Linked DNA regions of Homo sapiens: regions 1 and 3 are each linked to region 2. The links are contacts of gene promoters, found by promoter capture Hi-C in human tissues and cell types (Jung and others, 2019). All regions are on one chromosome and are shown on one strand. The core of a region is centred on a gene start or on the middle of the fragment in contact, and the rest is flanking DNA. Distances in the headings are between cores, read along the strand shown. Region 1 holds the start of TNFRSF17 (TNF receptor superfamily member 17). Region 2 holds the start of ERCC4 (ERCC excision repair 4, endonuclease catalytic subunit). Region 3 overlaps SHISA9 (shisa family member 9).

Region 1 (2,700 bases), core at 40-2,539, 2.0 Mb before region 2:
GCTACTTGGAAGGCTGAGGTGGGCAGATCACCTGAACCCAGGAGGTGGAGGCTGCAGTGAGCTGTGATTGTGTCACTGCACTCAGCCTGGGAGACAGAGTGAGACTCTGTCAAAAAAAAAAAAAAAGGCAAATTCAAGTGATCCATTTATGTAAACAGAAAAATGCACTATATAAATGTATCTATCTAGAATTCAGGGATCGGTGAAACAAAAGACATCGCATCGGCAGGTCTGTTTGCAACTTCTGGGATACACCAGGTGTTAGCGGTGATGACTTCTGGATGCTTGGACTGTGGATTTTTAAAATGGTTTTATCTGCTCATCTGTATTTCTAAATTTTCAACAATGGAACATAGATTATTGTATTATTATTATAATACCCCAAACCTATCTTCCTCTCAGCCCTCTTTCCACGAGCTCTTACCCTAAATGTCTCTTTTTCTGTCAGTGGCATTGTGCGTCTTCCTTAGTGCATCACCTCTGATCTTCCTGTAGAATTTTTTTTTTTTTTGAGATAGAGTCTTGCTTTGTCACCCAGGCTGGAGCGCAGTGGCCTGATCTTGGCTTACTGCAAACTCCGCCTCCTGGGTTCAAGCACGTCTCCCTGCCTCAGCCTCCTGAGTAGCTGGGATCATAGGTGCCTGCCACCATGCCTGACTAATTTTTGTATTTTTAGTAGAGACGGGGTTTCACCATGTTGGCCAGGCTGTTCTGGAACTCCTGACCTCAAGTGATCCACCTGCCTCGGCCTCCCAAAGTGCTGGGATTACAGGAGAGCGCCACGGCGCCCAGCTTACACCAGACTACTTTTTAAAATGTTTTTGTAAAGTCAGGGTTTCGCCATGTTGCCCAGGCTGATTTTGAACTCCTGGGCTCAAGCAATCCTTTTGCCTTTTGACTCCCAAAGTCCTGGGATTACAGGTGTGAACCCCTGCAGCTGGCCTCAATGTTAAGATCTTAAGGGGCACAGCACAGACCTTGTCTTGTCTATCTCCCTGGCACCTCTCACAGAGTACAGCTTATTAACAGATGTTCCAGAAACTGTTACTGAACATTCGGCTTGATGCTGTGGGCTTGTCTGCATCTTGCAACTGTCACCTGGCTGAGAAATTTCTTCTATAAATAAGCAGTTTCTGTTTCAGATGTGATATGCCCTGATATTTACACCCTGTCTCTTACCCCATCCAAGACTCAAACTTAGAAACTTGAATTAGATGTGGTATTCAAATCCTTAGCTGCCGCGAAGACACAGACAGCCCCCGTAAGAACCCACGAAGCAGGCGAAGTTCATTGTTCTCAACATTCTAGCTGCTCTTGCTGCATTTGCTCTGGAATTCTTGTAGAGATATTACTTGTCCTTCCAGGCTGTTCTTTCTGTAGCTCCCTTGTTTTCTTTTTGTGATCATGTTGCAGATGGCTGGGCAGTGCTCCCAAAATGAATATTTTGACAGTTTGTTGCATGCTTGCATACCTTGTCAACTTCGATGTTCTTCTAATACTCCTCCTCTAACATGTCAGCGTTATTGTAATGCAAGTAAGTAATATTGCTTGAACGATTATTCATTGGTGTGAACTATTCTGTCTATATGGACTGCTTATTCAGAGAATCAACATAATGGGCATGATGGTGAGTTTTCTTGAATCAAAAAGAGAAAGGAAGCAAGGCAGTGATTTTAATGTTTATGGAAACAAAGTAATTATTTGGAACTGAACTTGATATGATTCAGCACTATTAGCAACATAGATTTTTTTTAAAAATCAGCTCTTCTAATTAAGTGATATTTAGAATTTAAAAGTCAATGTTCATTAATTAAGGTGATTGAATGGAAATAATCCATACTTGATTATTTTGCTATCAAAACAATCCATAATTCATTATTTTAGCAAAATAATCAAGTATGACAGCCGGGTGCGGTGGATGGCTCACACCTGTAATCCCAGCACTTTGGGAGGCCGAGGTGGGTGAATCACCTGAGGTCGGCAGTTTGAGGCCAGCCTGGCCAACCTGGTGAAACCCTGTCTCTACTAAAAATACAAAAAATTAGCTGGGCATGGTGGCACAGGTCTGTAATCCCAGCTACTCGGGAGGCTGAGGCAGGAGAATTGTTTGAACTTGGGAGGTGGAGGTTGCAGTGAGCCGAGATCGCGCCACTGCACTCTAGCCTGGGCAACAGAGCAAGACTTTGTCTCAAAATAAATAAATAAATAATAACAATAAAGTATGTGAATATTATGTTATCAGCTCATTATCTGTCTGATGTTCTTTTCATAAAGGTGTGACCAATTCAGTGAAAGGAACGAATGCGATTCTCTGGACCTGTTTGGGACTGAGCTTAATAATTTCTTTGGCAGTTTTCGTGCTAATGTTTTTGCTAAGGAAGATAAACTCTGAACCATTAAAGGACGAGTTTAAAAACACAGGTTGGTTTGATGGTGAATCTTTGAAATCTATTTCCAGGGGATGGCTATTGTGAGTTTCAGTTCCTTTTCTTTTTTTAGCGTTGACTATTTCACTTCGTTACAGCCCTTTCGAATGTGTTAGAACATTGTTACATTAAATGAACTTGGTAGAGGTGAGCCATCTTCATTCTGATTTTGACACCTTGGCAGATTTTCTACAATGTCAGTCTTCTCCAGGATTCTTCCACTGTTAATTACTCTATTGAAAGTACTAAGGCTTTCTTGGGAAACATCAGTCTC
Region 2 (2,700 bases), core at 129-2,628:
AATACCAGATTAAGCAGTAAAGAGGTAGAGGAACAGATCCTCTTGGAAACGGCTAGTGTGAATGTGAATTGGTATAGGCTTTCTAGAGGGCAATGTGGCAATGTGAATGGAATGAAAAGCCTTACAAATTTTTTTCTCTTTATCCCAGTGATTATTCATTTCTAGACGTGTATCTGAAGGCCACGGCTGAATTTACATACAAAGATGTTTAGTGAAATATTATTTATATTACTGGAAGGGAAAAAGCAGAAACAGACTAAATGTCCTCTAATAAGCAATTAGGTAAGTACACCCACATAATGGAAATCTCATCAGCCATATAAAAGGACTTTGTAAAAGAATATGAAACATCATGTTCAGAGGTTTGCCAAATGTTAATGACAAAGCTGGGGATTTAAATCAGGGATATTAATTATCTCGTGTCGGTAAAAGAACTCCGTGTGATGAGAGAATGTGTATATAGATAGAAAAAAAAGGACTAAATAAAATAGATTTCGTGATGTTAACAGTGGTTATTTCCAAGTAATGGAAACAAGTGATTTTCATTTTTGTTTACTTGTATTTTCTATTTTCTAATAACAAAGGTGGGGGGTTTCTATACAAAACAATTCCTCTACTAGTTCAACTATCAGGCATTTCTAGGTATAGAACAAACACTGCGGGAGGTGTCCCTCTAGTGGAAGGAGGGATTTTTAAAAATAGTTTATTGTATTGAAGTCTTTGGGAGGCAAACAGAGGTCTGAAGTCAGTAAATGATTCTGCTTATTCCACAGCCACTGCACTCCAGCCTGGGCAACATATCAACATCCTGTCTCGGGAAAGAAAAAAAAAATTAAAAGAAGGATGGGGAGTAATCGCAAAAGGAAGGGCCAAAAACCACCCTAGGAAACAGGTGCTACTAACTCTTGGCGCATTTGGAATATTGACCAGTAACTTTTTCAACTGTCGATGTCGGGGGATTAAGCTCCTTAGGCTTACTTCCCCTTCCCTTGCTTTTTGGCAGCTTGAGGCTAGGGTGCCAGGGGATGTGGAAACTCAAAAGAGACGTGAATGGAGCCTGATATCTGCAAGCTACACCGACAGGGGGCGCCAGCCCCTACAGGTGACTCCATGAATCTTCGGCTCCACTCGGCTCTTCTTCGGCTGAGTTCGGCCAACGCTTGCCTTCTCAGGCTCGGCTCTCTTCGGCTTTCTGAGAGCGCGCCTGTCGTGGCCTCGGCTCCTCTTCGGCTGCGTTCGGCCCACGATCATCTCAGTCTCAGCTCTCCTCGGCTACGTTCGGCTGGCTGCCGTCCTCTCGGACTCGGCTCTCTTCGGTTGAGTTCGGCCTACTCTCCACTAGGAGTCGGCTTCCTTCGGCTGCGTTCGGCTGCGACCCGGAAGAGCTTCCATGGAGTCAGGGCAGCCGGCTCGACGGATTGCCATGGCGCCGCTGCTGGAGTACGAGCGACAGCTGGTGCTGGAACTGCTCGACACTGACGGGCTAGTAGTGTGCGCCCGCGGGCTCGGCGCGGACCGGCTCCTCTACCACTTTCTCCAGCTGCACTGCCACCCAGCCTGCCTGGTGCTGGTGCTCAACACGCAGCCGGCCGAGGAGGTGCGGCCGCGCTGGCGCGGGAGTGAGGGGACTCCGAGAGTGTTGAGGGCCTCCTGAGCGGATGCGAGGCCTCTGACAGGGATGGAGGGGCTCTGAGGGGGATTCAGGCCCCTGACACTACGCGATGACACAGAGAAGGATGGCAGGGGTCCCCAGGGGGATGCAGGTCCCTCACACTGCGGGAACACAGACGTATGTAAGGGGTCGCTAGGAGGATACCGGTCGCTCACACCGTGCGGGGACACTGATAAGAATTGGAGGGGCCCCGAGAAGGCTGCAGGTCCCTGGCAGGAGTTGAAGAACACTAAGAGGAATGCCAGTCCCTGACACTGTGCGGGGACTCTGAGAGGGAAGGGAGGGGTCCCAAGAAGGATGCAAGTCTTTGACCAGAGTTCAAGAACACTAAGAGAAATGGGAGGGGTCCCCAGGGGATGCGGGTCCCTGACACTGTGCAGGCACAGTGAGAATGATGGAAGGGGTCCCGAGAAGGATGCAATTCCCTGACAACACTAAGAGGGATGGGAGGGGTCCCCAGAAGGATGCAGGTCCCTGACATGGGTGCAAGGGCACTGAAAGGTGAAGGGGCTCTGAGTGGTAGGAGAGGATCGGAGGTCGCTGCAGGGGAGGGGGAGATGTCGGAAGGAGGATCTGGATAGGAATAACGGGAGAGTCCTGAAGTTGGCCATTAAGGGAGTTTCTGGGGGCAGAAGGAAGGTCCCTGAAAGGGAACAGTGATGAGGATGGAAGATCTCTGAGGGTGATGGGGAGACATGAAAGGAGATGCTGAGGCGCTGGAAAAACCCCAATAGGGAAAAGGAGGGACCAGGAAATAGGACATTCACCAAGGCTGTGTTAAGAGGGCCATAGGGTCAGAAAGGGATTGGAGCTTGACGCTGAGGATGTTGGCAAAGGTTAACTACAGTTAAGGACAATGGAGAACACTGAGAAAGATGGAATGGGGCTACACATGGGTCTGAGGGGTGTTGAGAGGGGACACAGCTTGGTCGGACAAGTCTGATGATCCCCTAGATATATCAGGTGGCCGGGAGAAAAATGTCAGCTGAGAAGAGTGACCACAGTCTCTTTGAGGGCAGGGATCCTGT
Region 3 (2,700 bases), core at 163-2,662, 1.0 Mb before region 2:
GAACTCCTGACCTCATGCGATCCTTTCACCTCTGCCTCCCAAAGTGCTGGAATTACAGGCATGAGCCACTGTGCCTGACCGTATTTGTATTCTGTTGCTTGTTTCTCAACGTATGTAACTTTTCTGTGGTGCTGGGGCTACCCCAGGTACCTGCCAAATGCATCCTGGGCTGCTTACGCAGTTAATCACTTGGAGTCCCAGCTATGGCAACTGACCCAGTAGCCTTTGCCGGATTGTGCCAAGGGTTGCTCCAGTGGGTGTCAACTTGCCAAGCTTGGCATCAGAGAGGCTGCTATGACACAAAGCAGCTTCCAGGTGAAATTAACCTGCCAGTCACAGGCAGCTTCCAGGTGAAATTAACCTGCCAGTCACAGCCTCTTAATTTTTGTCTGGAGCTGCAAGGGACCCTGAATGGGGGTTTGTTCTCATCCAGACTGAAAGCATATTCTCTTGAAAGACATAAAGTATGTTGTCGCACCCCCATTATAAACTTTGCCCCTAGTGACCAGTAAACTTGGGTTTTGCTGCAGAGGCCTCCAAGATACCAGTTTGCAGGTTCAGAGTCCTGGGCCTGTGGCCTGCTTGCTTCTGGGCTAATTAGGGCTGAGAAAAGGAGAAAGACAGCAATTCCAGGAAGCGGTGGGGGGAGGCTCGCATGGGATCTCGTAAGAACCGAACAAATGCCCATTGAGCAGCTGCAAGAGCAGCCACAGTCAGTCACTATTTATTAGAATAAATGACTGCACATGGCAGCCAGCTATGGATACCAAACCATGTAGTCATGCTTTGCTTGATCTGCAAGGTATTTCTACTTAGGTGTTTTTATTTTTAAGTTTTCCTCAATTTTGTGTTGTGAGAAGTTTTAAACATACAAAAAAACCTTGAAAAATCATAACATAACTTCACTATATCCTTTATCTAGATGAGGATTTCTCAACCTTGGCACTATTGACTGGAGAATCCTGCGTTGTACGGGGCTGTCCTGTGCATGGCAAGATATTTGGCGGCGTCTCTGGTCTCTGCCCACTGATGCTGGTAGCACACACTCCACACCCCAGTTTTGACAGTGAAAAATGTCATCTAAGGGCAAAGGGCAAAACTGGCCCCAGTTGAGAACCACTAACTTAGATTGAACAATTATTAGTATTTTGTCATAGTTGCTTTATTGCTCACACACTCTTTCCATATTTTTTTCTTTCCCTTCTCCTTCCCTCCATCCCCCTTCCCCCTTCCCTCCTTCCCTCCCTCCCTTCCTCCTTTGTTTTTTCCTTCCTTCCTTATTTCCTTCCTTCCTCTCTTCCTTTCTTCTTTTCTTCCTTTCCCTCCCTCCCTCCCTCCTTCCCTCCATCCCCCTTCCACCCTTCCCTCCCTCCGTCCCTCCCTCCCTCCCTTCCTTGCTTCCTTCCTCCTTTCTTTCCTCTCTTCCCTTCCTACCCTTCTTCCTTCTGTCTTCTTCCCTTCCTCCCTTCTTTGCTTCTTTTTTCCTTCCTCCCTTCCCTTTTCTCCCTTCTCTTTCCTTCCTTCCCCTCCCCTCTTCTCATCTTCTTCCCTTCCTCATTTTCTTCCTTCCCTCTTCCCCTCCCTCCCTTTCTTCTTTCTTTCTTGGCTGAAACATGTGAAAATAAGTTGCAGACATGACACTTAGTCCCTAATATCTCAGCAGGGGGCTTTCCTGAGAGCAAGGACATTTTCCTACACAGCACAATTCCATTATCACACCCAGGAAAAAGAGCAAAAATCCCGTAATATCATCAGACATCCAGTCATTTAAAAATTTCTCACTCGCACAAAAACAGGTCTTTCAGAGCTTGGTTTTGCACATCGGGACCCAGCTCATTGTATTTGGCTGTGAAATCTCTTTAGTCTCTATTATGCGTGGTGTTTTAAAACCAGCTGAGACTCAGTTGCCAACATTTACAAACTGGGAGATTTCACGCAGGAATCCAGATTCCTGATTTCTCATGAGAACTCAGTGGGTCTGGTGACATTGGATCTGCATTTTCACGCAGCAGCTATTGGTTGCCACTAAGTGATGACTGCCCCCTTCAGGAAGCTCTTGGGTTCATCTCAGTCACCACCTCCACCCAATTCACTCTGTTATGTTAACTGCAGCCTCTAGAGAGTCAGTCAAGTTGCTCTGCATAGCGCAGACTCCAGTCAGATGGCCTGAGATTCAATCTCAGCTCAGCCACTTAATAGCTGTGTGACCTTGGGAAGGTTGCTTCACCTCTCTGAGTCTCAGGCTGTTGTCTGCAGGTGGAGGATTCACTGAGACAGGGCTTGGAAAACAATGAGCTCAGGACCTGTCACAACTATTACCCTTTTATCATCATCCTTATTATTGACATTTTTTACCTCTTGTCTACTGAAGAGAATTATGTTGTCATCTGGATCTCGGTTACTAACCCTTGCTCTGCTATATTTATTTAACTGTGTGACATTGACCAAGTCTCCTAACCTCTCTGGACTTGCATTTGAATCTGAGTGGGAGGGGCTGGCAGGTGCAGAATAGGAGGGAGGGTCTATATGTGACTACGTTAAATACATTGCAAAGTGTTGGCCTAAGTGGTGTTGAAAAATCCTTGTTGGTTTTGCAATTTTGCCATAAGCTTATGTGTAAATTCTCGTTTAATTTCATACCCTTCCCCCATGAGGTAGGCTCTATGACAATCTGCTGTTTATGGAGGCACAGATTTCTTT

The links. The method cuts DNA at HindIII sites, captures the fragments that hold promoters and counts their contacts. A contact is called where the count stands out against the background at its distance.
Region 1: a contact is called between the fragment with the promoter of TNFRSF17 here and the fragment with the promoter of ERCC4 in region 2, in 1 of the 25 tissues and cell types used here (dorsolateral prefrontal cortex).
Region 3: a fragment that was not itself captured here is called in contact with the fragment with the promoter of ERCC4 in region 2 in 1 of the 25 tissues and cell types used here (dorsolateral prefrontal cortex).

Annotation. Positions count from the first base shown.
Region 1 is chr16:11,963,921-11,966,620 of GRCh38, forward strand. It overlaps TNFRSF17 (TNF receptor superfamily member 17), which reads left to right and starts at 1,290. Exons shown (of 3, transcript NM_001192.3): 1 at 1,290-1,534; 2 at 2,275-2,421. The coding sequence starts at 1,405. It also overlaps a transcript of NPIPB2 not described here. RefSeq lists enhancers at 838-957, 1,078-1,517. The HindIII fragment of the contact is 26,500 bases long and covers 1-2,700 here.
Region 2 is chr16:13,918,776-13,921,475 of GRCh38, forward strand. It overlaps ERCC4 (ERCC excision repair 4, endonuclease catalytic subunit), which reads left to right and starts at 1,379. Exons shown (of 11, transcript NM_005236.3): 1 at 1,379-1,597. The coding sequence starts at 1,391. The region is part of intron 1 of LOC105371093 (a long non-coding RNA gene); the gene reads right to left. LOC124903647 (a long non-coding RNA gene) reads right to left here and starts at 1,303. Exons shown (of 2, transcript XR_007065001.1): 1 at 904-1,303; 2 at 690-808. RefSeq lists enhancers at 963-1,012, 1,223-1,582, 1,623-1,832. The HindIII fragment of the contact is 8,609 bases long and covers 1-2,700 here.
Region 3 is chr16:12,905,821-12,908,520 of GRCh38, forward strand. All of the region lies in intron 1 of SHISA9 (shisa family member 9), which reads left to right. Among named protein-coding and RNA genes, the nearest start is that of SHISA9, 5.6 kb to the left of the region's middle. The HindIII fragment of the contact is 4,669 bases long and covers 1-2,700 here.